Regions from separate parts of the Homo sapiens genome. Here regions 1 and 2 are each linked to region 3. Evidence: promoter capture Hi-C in 16 types of primary human blood cells and fetal thymus (Javierre and others, 2016). All regions are on one chromosome and are shown on one strand. The core of a region is centred on a gene start or on the middle of the fragment in contact, and the rest is flanking DNA. Distances in the headings are between cores, read along the strand shown.

Region 1 (2,974 bases), core at 142-2,641, 140 kb after region 3:
CTCATCTTTCTAGGGATGGGGTCAGGGCTTATGATTCTGGCCACTGGGGTTCAGGAGAACGGCAGCCCTGGCAGTGACTCCTGGTAGCACCGGCTGATAGACTTGACCATAGCTGTAGTGGAAACAGATTTCAAAAGACAGATGTTCCTCTGTCCCAGCTGTTCCGGGGACTTTGTCCCTGGTGGGTGAGCAGGTGCCTGTCCAGGTGATGTTTTCGGCCAAAGCTCTTCTCACAGCGAGGGCACTGGAAGGGCTTCTCCCCAGTGTGGGTCAGCCAGTGTCTCACAAGGTGGTGCCTTCGGCCAAAGCTCTTCCCACATTCAGTGCACACGTGACACTTTGGCACTGGTGGGGCACGCTGCCGTTTCCTTGTGCCAGGGCTCTCTCCAACCTCTTGGCCTTTGCAGGATTTGCCTTCTGCATGCACTCTCTGGTGGCTGGCCAGATGGGAGTTGCATCGGAAATTCTTACCACACTCAGAGCACCTGCTGGTCTTGTCATGTAGGTGGGTTTTCTGGTGCCTGATGAGGTGATGTCTTCGCCCAAAGGTCTTCTCACACTTGAGGCAGCTGTAGGGTCTCTCCCCAGTGTGTGTTTGTTGATGCCTGGCAAGGTGGGAACCCCATACAAACTGTTTCCCACACTGGGGGCATGTGTGGGGTCTTAACAGGGAATCCATCTCTGTGCTACACAGCAGGTTTGAGAAACTATCTTCCTGAAGAAAAGGGGGCCCCAGGAGCATTCCTCTGGAGCTGCTGGGCATGGAATCCCAGCTCTCATCATGCTCCGGGTTCCAGAGAACAGTATCTTCAGACACGCTGGATAACATTCTGGGAGGTTCTGCTTCTAGTTCAGGGGTATCCCCCTCATGTTCACTTCCATCTCCTGCGGAGAAGGGGAAATACCAACCCCAAGAGAAGAGTCACAAGAGAGTGCTTGAGGCCTAAGTCACAAATGAGGTTGTCTGATACCTGCCAGGGCCCAGACTTGACCCCAGAAGGGCTGAGAGAACATAGTCTAATGTCGTACAAGACAGTGCAATAGATATAGAGGTTAAAAGCCTAGGCTTAGGAGGCAGATTACCTAAGATGGAATCTCAGCTTTCCCACTTAACTTCCCTAAACCTTCATTTCTTCTGTAAAATTGGAATAATACCTCTCTCTCCGGCAGTTATAAGATAGATAGCACAGAACCTGCACATAGTTTAAGTACTTAGTAAATTGTATATGTTATTGTTATTATTTATTACCATTATTTATTTACTACTGTATATTACTATTAATCAGCATCTTTCTATCTAAGCATAGATGGAGAGAATTACAGAATGTGCCGCAATTGTCACTGGCTGAATGACACCTGTCGGCAGTCCTCAAGGCATTCCTGAAATGGGTGGGAGGTTGACAACAATATCAACAATAACAACAACTAACATTTATTGAGTGCTTATTATGTGCTTGGCACTGTTCTATTCTAATATTCTAATATATTCATATATTTAATTTTCACAATAATTTACAGATGAAGAAACCAAAGGGAGTTTTATTACTTTTCCAAGGTCCCACAACTACAGCCCAGAATTCAAATCCACAAAGTGCCTGCTACATCATTCTATTACACTCCCTTGCTTTTGAAGAAAAAAATCTCTAAACCTTTTGTCTCTGGAACTCTCTGAGGCAGAGGAGGGATTAAACGAACATGGAATGATGATGTCCCGAACTGTGAAGGAAGTGGCTGAAAGCCTATTCTAGGTTCTTACCTGTATATGTGACCCTCAGAATGTCCCTCTCCTCTAAGTCCTGGGGGTCAGGGACCCATTGTTCTTCTCCTCCTTCTAGTTGAGAAAGCATGTCCAGTTTGGGAATTGGAAATCCTGCTCATGGGAAAGGAAAATAGAGCTGTCAATTAGTTCAACAGCAATTCTATATTTCTGAAAAAAAAATACAAAAAACTGTTTCCTATTGTTTGGAACTCTAGACAAAAGAAGGTCAAGAAAGAAACATATCCCCACCCCAACCTCTTCCCCCACCCATTTCTGTTAAGTCCCTCTTCTCTGCCTAGAAAATCACTCTCCTTCCCAATGAACCTGTTTTCTTCCACTCAGATACTTCCAGCCCAGCTGGCCTTTCTGGGCGTAACTTCACTTTAGTCCTACTACGACAGTCCTACTCCCTGCATCCCTATCTTCCTCTACATGGTTCCCAAGTTTACAAGGACCCAGTTCCAGTTCTCTCTGCTTTATGAGAACCTCCTAATTCCCAACCAAGAAGAACCTCAAGTTCTACTCCACAATTAAGCATCATTTGCTTTTTTACTTTTTTTTTTTTAATGATATTTACTCTCATTCTCTTGGGATTGGCCCTAGTGTTCTTTCTCCAGCGGAAGCATAGACAGATTCCCTGCCACATAAAGAGTCCTAGACAGACACTATCCAATAGCCCTGAAGCAGATGGCTCCGTCCTCCCAGAGTCCAATCTTCTAGTGGCTGGAGAAGGTCATGCTTACTCAGAGAGACTACTATCCCACAGTTTTCCTGCATGACATATTCTCCATAAAAGTCTGTCTGAGAGGGGTCCAGGCTCCGCCACTCCTCCTGAGAGAAGCACAGTGACACATCCTTGATGGTTACCAGGCCCTGAAACAAAATGTAGCATCTTCTGTCAGCAGCTGTTTTTTAAGGAAAATGTGATTCAGTATGAAAGGCTAAGTTAGTAGAGGAGAGAGGGTGAGAAATGATCTGAGAAAAGAGCTGCCCAGAAGTCCCTGGGTAGGGCACATAGTTTTGGTAACAGGGAAATGAGGAGAGGAGTAAAGGTAGATGGTCAAGGAGTGAGTGAGTGTAATGTTACTGGAGGAATTTCCCAAGTGGGGCCATGAGAAGCTGGAGGCACCATAAACTCATCACCACCTCTGTTTAGCTACAGGTGTCTACTCAGTCACTTCTCCCTGGCCTTACTCTTTTTATGAAGAAATTATG
Region 2 (2,818 bases), core at 44-2,543, 230 kb after region 3:
ATGATACAATGGACTTTGGGAACTTGTGGGGAAGGGTGGTGGGGGAGGGATAAAAGACTACAAATAGGGTGCAATGTGTACTGCTCAGGTGATGGGTACACCAAAATCTCACAAATCACCACTAAAAAACTTACTCATGTAACCAAACACCACCTGTACCCTCAATAACCTATGGAAAAATAAAAAGTAAAAAAGAATGTATATTAAAATGTTAATTATAAAATTTAGATGTGATTATCTGGGTATTCACTATAAAATTCTGTTAACTTTGCTGTATGTTGGAAACTTTTCATTTTCAAATGAAATGAATGCTGAATACATGAGTCAATATTTAAAAATTATAAGAGAATATTATGAGAAACAAAATACTAATTAAATTAGATGAAAAATAGTGATGAAAATTACAAATCACCAAAATTGATTCACTAACAAAATATAAAACACAAGTGTACAATAATCATCAAAGGAATTAAATTAGAAATAAAAAATTTTCTCAACAAGACAAGAAATCCTTAAAATGTCAAAGATGAGTTTTATAAAAACCTTCGAGAAAGTGATCATCTCTTCTTTAAGCAAATATTTTAAGAAAATACAAAGATGAATGAAAGCATATTATTGATATCAGTATTGGATGTCTAGAATAGGCAAATCTATATACATAAAAAGTAGTTTAGTGGAATTCTAGGGCCAAGAATGGGGATGGGATTGGAGAGTGACTACCCATAGGTGTGAGATTTCTTTGGGGATGACAAAATGTCCTGAGATTGGTGGTAGTGATGGGTGCAAAACTCTGTAAATATGCTAGAAACCATTGACTTGTGCACTTTGAATGGCTGAATATTGTGATGTATAAATTATAATCTCAATAAAGTTCTTAAAAAGAAAAGATGGAGTGAATGCAATAAAAAAATTATAGTATCTCACTTATAAATACAAATAGGAAATTCCTAAGTTAAATACTGGTAAAAGTTAATTAAGTTTTTAATACTCTACCTAAGTAGGCTGATTCCAGGAATGCAACAATTCTTCAAAAACAGAACATGCACTGATACAATTTGTTATTAACAAATTAAATGACAAAAACCATATAACCATTTCAATGAATTTATTTTTTTCCAAAATGTTTTTATTGCATGCCTATTGTGTGACAGACACTATACAGTACTGAACAAAAGAGAAACAACCGTAGTCCTCAATAGAAGCAGAAAAAGCTTGTGATAAAATCTCACACCAATTCTTAGCAAAATATGTTTAGAAAAGAACTCTCCTTTCAATATAATCCATAGGTTCAGAAAACACAAACAAAAAAGAACTCTCTTAATAACTTAAAGATATTCATCAAAAATAGAACATCATCCTTAATGCTGAAACATGAGAAGCTTTCTCATTGATCCTAACAGAAAGATATCTATACTGGAGGTCCTGGCTGCTGCATGAACTTTAAAAATGAGATATATAAAAATTGCATACAGCCAGGCACACTGGCTCATGCCTGTAATCCCAGCACTTTGGAAGGCCAAGGTGGGCTGATCACCTGAGATCAGGAGTTCAAGTCCAGCCTGGCCAACATGGAGAAATCCCATCTCTACTAAAAGTACAAAATTAGCCAGGCGTGGTGGTACATGCCTGTAACCCCAGCTACTGGGGAGCCTGAGGCAGGAAAATCGCTTGAACTCAGGAGGTGGAGGTTGCAGTGAGCCCAGATCACACCATTGCACTGCAGCCTGGGCAACAAGAGTGAAACTTTTTCTACAAAAAAAAAAAAAGCATATAAAAAATCTTACCCTAATTTAAGATAAAATAATTAAAATGTAATGTTAAAATCCAATAGTATGTATAAACAAGACAGTAGTACTAGAAAGATAGTTCAACAAACTTGACAGATACAAGATCAATGTACAAAATACCACAACGTTCCTATACATCAGAAATAACCAAGTAGTAAATATATCTGAATTTTTAATTCACAATAGGAACAAAAAATAGATGGTATCTGGTAATATATCTGGCAAAATTTATGTGTGACCTTTATCAAAATACCTGTCACCAATGGCAACAGCAGATCAGCCTTGGTGAATGAAAGAAAATGTTGCCGTTTGCATAACCACCACCTTGCTCAGCCACGGCTACAGTGCTTGTGCGTTCATGGACCAGAACTAGGCTCACCAGGAAGGAAAGACTGACCTTTGCATGATAGGCGATTCTATTCAAAAAACTATTTTGAACTGCCTTAGCAGTGGGATCCCTCTGGTGAGAACTTATCCTAAATGGATTCTCCATTTCTTGACTCACAACTTACACATTCAAAGTACAGTTACTGTGCAACAAGCTTTTTTTTGGGGGGGGGGGGGGCAGGATCTTGCTCTGTTGCCCAGGCTGGAGTGCAGTGGCTCAATCTCGGCTCACTGCAAGCTCCGCCACCCAGGTTCACACCATTCTCCTGCCTCAGCCTCCTGAGTAGCTGGGACTACAGGCACCCACCACCACCCCTGGCTAATTTTTTGTATTTTTAGTAGAGACGGGGTTTCACCATGTTAGCCAGGATGGTCTTGATCTCTTGACCTTGTGATCTGCCCACCTTGGCCTCCCAAAGTACTGGAATTACAGGTGTGAGCCACCGCACCCGGCCAGCCAGAAGCTTTTAAAAATATTCTTTGCCAGCGGTGGAGCCAAGATGGCCAAATAGGAACAGCTCCAGCCTACAGCTCCCAGCGTGAGCAATGCAGAAGACAGGTGATTTCTGCATTTCCATCTGAGGTACTGGGTTCATCTCACTGAGGCTTGTTGGACAGTGGGTGCAGGACAGTGGGTGCAGTGC
Region 3 (2,951 bases), core at 74-2,573:
GTACGAAACTCAGGTTGGGGGACTAGCATGTAAAGGTATATACAAATAAAATGGAGTTAAGTGCACTTATTTATTGAATCCTGTTGTGAGAACTTAAGAGGAAAAGAAACTGAGGAAAAAAACTAAGGAAAATCCGAAATTCTCCCGAGGAAGGTCCAAGAAAAAACAATGTGGAAGTGAAGTCAGAGAGATAACATCAGGACATTGGACATCAGGAGGAACTTTCAGGTCTGATTCTAGTGCCAAGGAAGCCATGAACGCTCTTTCCTGGAGCCTTTCAGCATAGGAGAGTTACTCATCTGCCAGGGCTGGGGATGGGGTAACTCTCCCATTCCCCAGGTGAAGGAGCTTTCCTTTCAGGGCCTTCCTGCTAGACAGACTGTGGCTGGGCCAGCCTGGTTCTTCCAAGTGCCCTCACCATGGCCTCCTTAATTTCCTTGTTGCGGAAACTATAAATGATGGGGTTGCACATGGGGGTAATGATGGTGTACAGGAGGGAGAAAGGTTTGTCTTTGTCAGGCCCATGTGTGCTGTGGGGGTTCATGTAAGAGAACATAGCTGAAGTGTAGAGAAAGATGACCACAGTCAGGTGAGAGGCACAAGTAGAGAAAGTCTTCCCCCGACCTGAGGAGGAGGCTTTGCTGAGGATGGTGGCCAGGATGTGCACATAGGAAGTGACAGTGAGCACCATGGGGCTGAGAATTACCACGATGGCATCGGCAAAGATTGCCCACAGACTAAACTGAGGGTCCCCACAAGAGAGGCCAATCACTATGGGGGCCTCACAGAAGAAGCTTTCTATGTGGTTGTCTCTGCGGAAGGGCTCTCGGAATGAAATATACTCGAGAAAGATGCCATTGATCAGCCCAAAGAACCAGGCAGTTCCCACAAGCCTGACACAGACCTTCTGGCTTATGATCGGGACATAGTTAAGTGGGTAGCAGATAGCAACATAACGGTCATAGGCCATGAAAGCCAAGAGGATGCACTCGGCCACACCAACACAGAAGACAAAGTACATCTGGGTCATGCAACATACAAAGGAGACAATGTGGTCCCTGACCACGAGGTGGATCAACATCTGTGGGATGGTAGTGGTGATGAAGCAGACATCCAGGAGAGACAGATGGCCGAGGAAGAAGTACATGGGGCTGTTGAGCTTGGGGTCTGTCCAGGAGGTGATAAAGATGATGAGGCCATTCATGGCCATGGTGAGGCTGTAGAGGGCCAAGAAGAGGGCAAAGAGCAATGCTCGTGTGGAAGTGGAGCTCTGCTGAAAGCCCACGAGGATAAATTCCGTCACTATGCTGCCATTCCTTAGCATCTGGGGCCTGTTTGAGGAGGAAAGATGATGGGAAAAGCACAAGGGTATAGCTGTGGGGTAATAGAAGGTACCCACTTGGTCCCAGAAGCCCAATTATAAAACAGGATGGATGAATGGTGGTCAACCTTTTGGAACTTAGTAAACTAGTAATTTGGCAGTGTTACGGGGTGGTGAAAATGCCAGGGTCATCACAGGCTGCATACATAGAATCATAATATCAACAGATGAAGAAAGTGCTGGTTGTAATGTTCTTTACTCTGGTTTCATCAGGCATCAAGTGAAGTATTGCATCTGCTCCAGAGCCCTCAATATTGAAGGATTAGCCATTAACCAGGATGTATTCAGAGGTGAAAAAATAAGATAATTGGGTCTGGGACCATGCCAACTGAGGAAAAGTTTTAGGAATTGAAGAATGGAGTGTGTGAGGGAAAGGGCTGGTGGCTATCAGGTTATAGAAGATTGTATTTAGGAAGCACTTGAGATATTTGAAGGTGTATTTTTCTAGAAGCAAAAATGCTCAACCTCTGTGTACCTAATTTAAAATGATGAATGGGTTGAAGTTTCAGGGAAAATAAAAACATTCTAATCCTCACAATTGTCCCTCAGCTAACAGTGATTTGCACCTTTTTGGAGACAGTCATGTCAAGCTCTTCCCAGTCACCCACCTCTTCCCAGACTCACTCGCCCAGCAGTTGCTGCTGCTACCGCAGCCACCCATGCTGTGCATGCTGGAGCTGAGGGCTGGGTGGGGGCTCATGCATGCCTTCCTAATAGGAGATGGTTTTCCTCCTGGGGCTGGAATTTACGGTTACACACAATTGGGTGGAAAGGATCCAACCATCCCTGTGTGAAAAGGGAAGCTATGAGCAGGGCATATATCTAACCTTTCTAGAATGGACCTTCAGAGAACTTTCAACTGTCTCTTTGTCTCTGGCAACAAATCTTGTTCTTTTTCCATTTTCAAAGAATGAGCGGTCACAATTCTTATGCTCTTATCTCTCTATTGTAACTTTTAGGAAGTTGTTATGTTCATATTAAGTCTGTCTTATACTTTTCATGTTGTTTTGGAGCTAAGATGTATCAGATCCCTTCCACCTTCAGATGCTTATACTTTTTTTTTTTTTTTTAAGAATTTATAGAGACAGGTACTCACTATGTCACCTGTGCTGGTCTTGAACTTCTGGCTTTAAGTGATTCTCCTGCCTTGGCCTCCCAAAGTGCTGGGATTACAGATGTGAGCTACTGCACCCATCCTCATCTTCAGATGCTTATAGATGATAAGTATATTCCTGCTTAACTTTCAGTTCTGCCAACCATTTCTCTTTATTTTCTCCTCTCCTACTCTCTTTTCTACACACTCTCACACTACCCTCTGTTAGTCTTTTTTCGTTTTTCAGTCTACTTCCAATCCTCATTCTTCTCCCTCTCCTTTTCTCATTTGTGGTGTTGGTTGCCTGCCGTTTATCTTACTCTGGTCAAACTCCCCTGTCTTCTCCATGTCTCTCAATCTCACATATTCTCTATCTGGATTTAGAGCTACCTACCCTTTCACTGCCACTCCTTGCAGCTCTAGATTCCCTCTAGGTATGATTTGATGTTAGGTCAAGGTAGCGTCTGGGCAGTAGGC

Evidence for each region. The method cuts DNA at HindIII sites, captures the fragments that hold promoters and counts their contacts. A CHiCAGO score of 5 or more calls a contact.
Region 1: a fragment that was not itself captured here is called in contact with the fragment with the promoter of OR10AD1 in region 3 in 5 of 17 cell types (neutrophils, monocytes, non-activated CD4 T cells and 2 more); the score reaches 9.5 in neutrophils.
Region 2: a contact is called between a fragment that was not itself captured here and the fragment with the promoter of OR10AD1 in region 3, in 1 of 17 cell types (naive CD8 T cells). The highest score is 5.5, in naive CD8 T cells.

The regions. Positions count from the first base shown.
Region 1 is chr12:48,342,843-48,345,816 of GRCh38, forward strand. ZNF641 (zinc finger protein 641) reads right to left here. Exons shown (of 6, transcript NM_001172681.2): 4 at 2,503-2,632; 5 at 1,757-1,870; 6 at 1-885. The coding sequence ends at 131. Among named protein-coding and RNA genes, the nearest start is that of ZNF641, 6.6 kb to the right of the region's middle. The HindIII fragment of the contact is 4,744 bases long and covers 1-2,974 here.
Region 2 is chr12:48,431,118-48,433,935 of GRCh38, forward strand. It overlaps a transcript of C12orf54 not described here. Among named protein-coding and RNA genes, the nearest start is that of ANP32D, 40 kb to the right of the region's middle. The HindIII fragment of the contact is 168 bases long and covers 1,210-1,377 here.
Region 3 is chr12:48,201,969-48,204,919 of GRCh38, forward strand. OR10AD1 (olfactory receptor family 10 subfamily AD member 1) reads right to left here and starts at 1,324. Exons shown (of 1, transcript NM_001004134.1): 1 at 371-1,324. The coding sequence starts at 1,324. The coding sequence ends at 371. The region is part of intron 1 of LOC102725258 (a long non-coding RNA gene); the gene reads left to right. The HindIII fragment of the contact is 3,232 bases long and covers 793-2,951 here.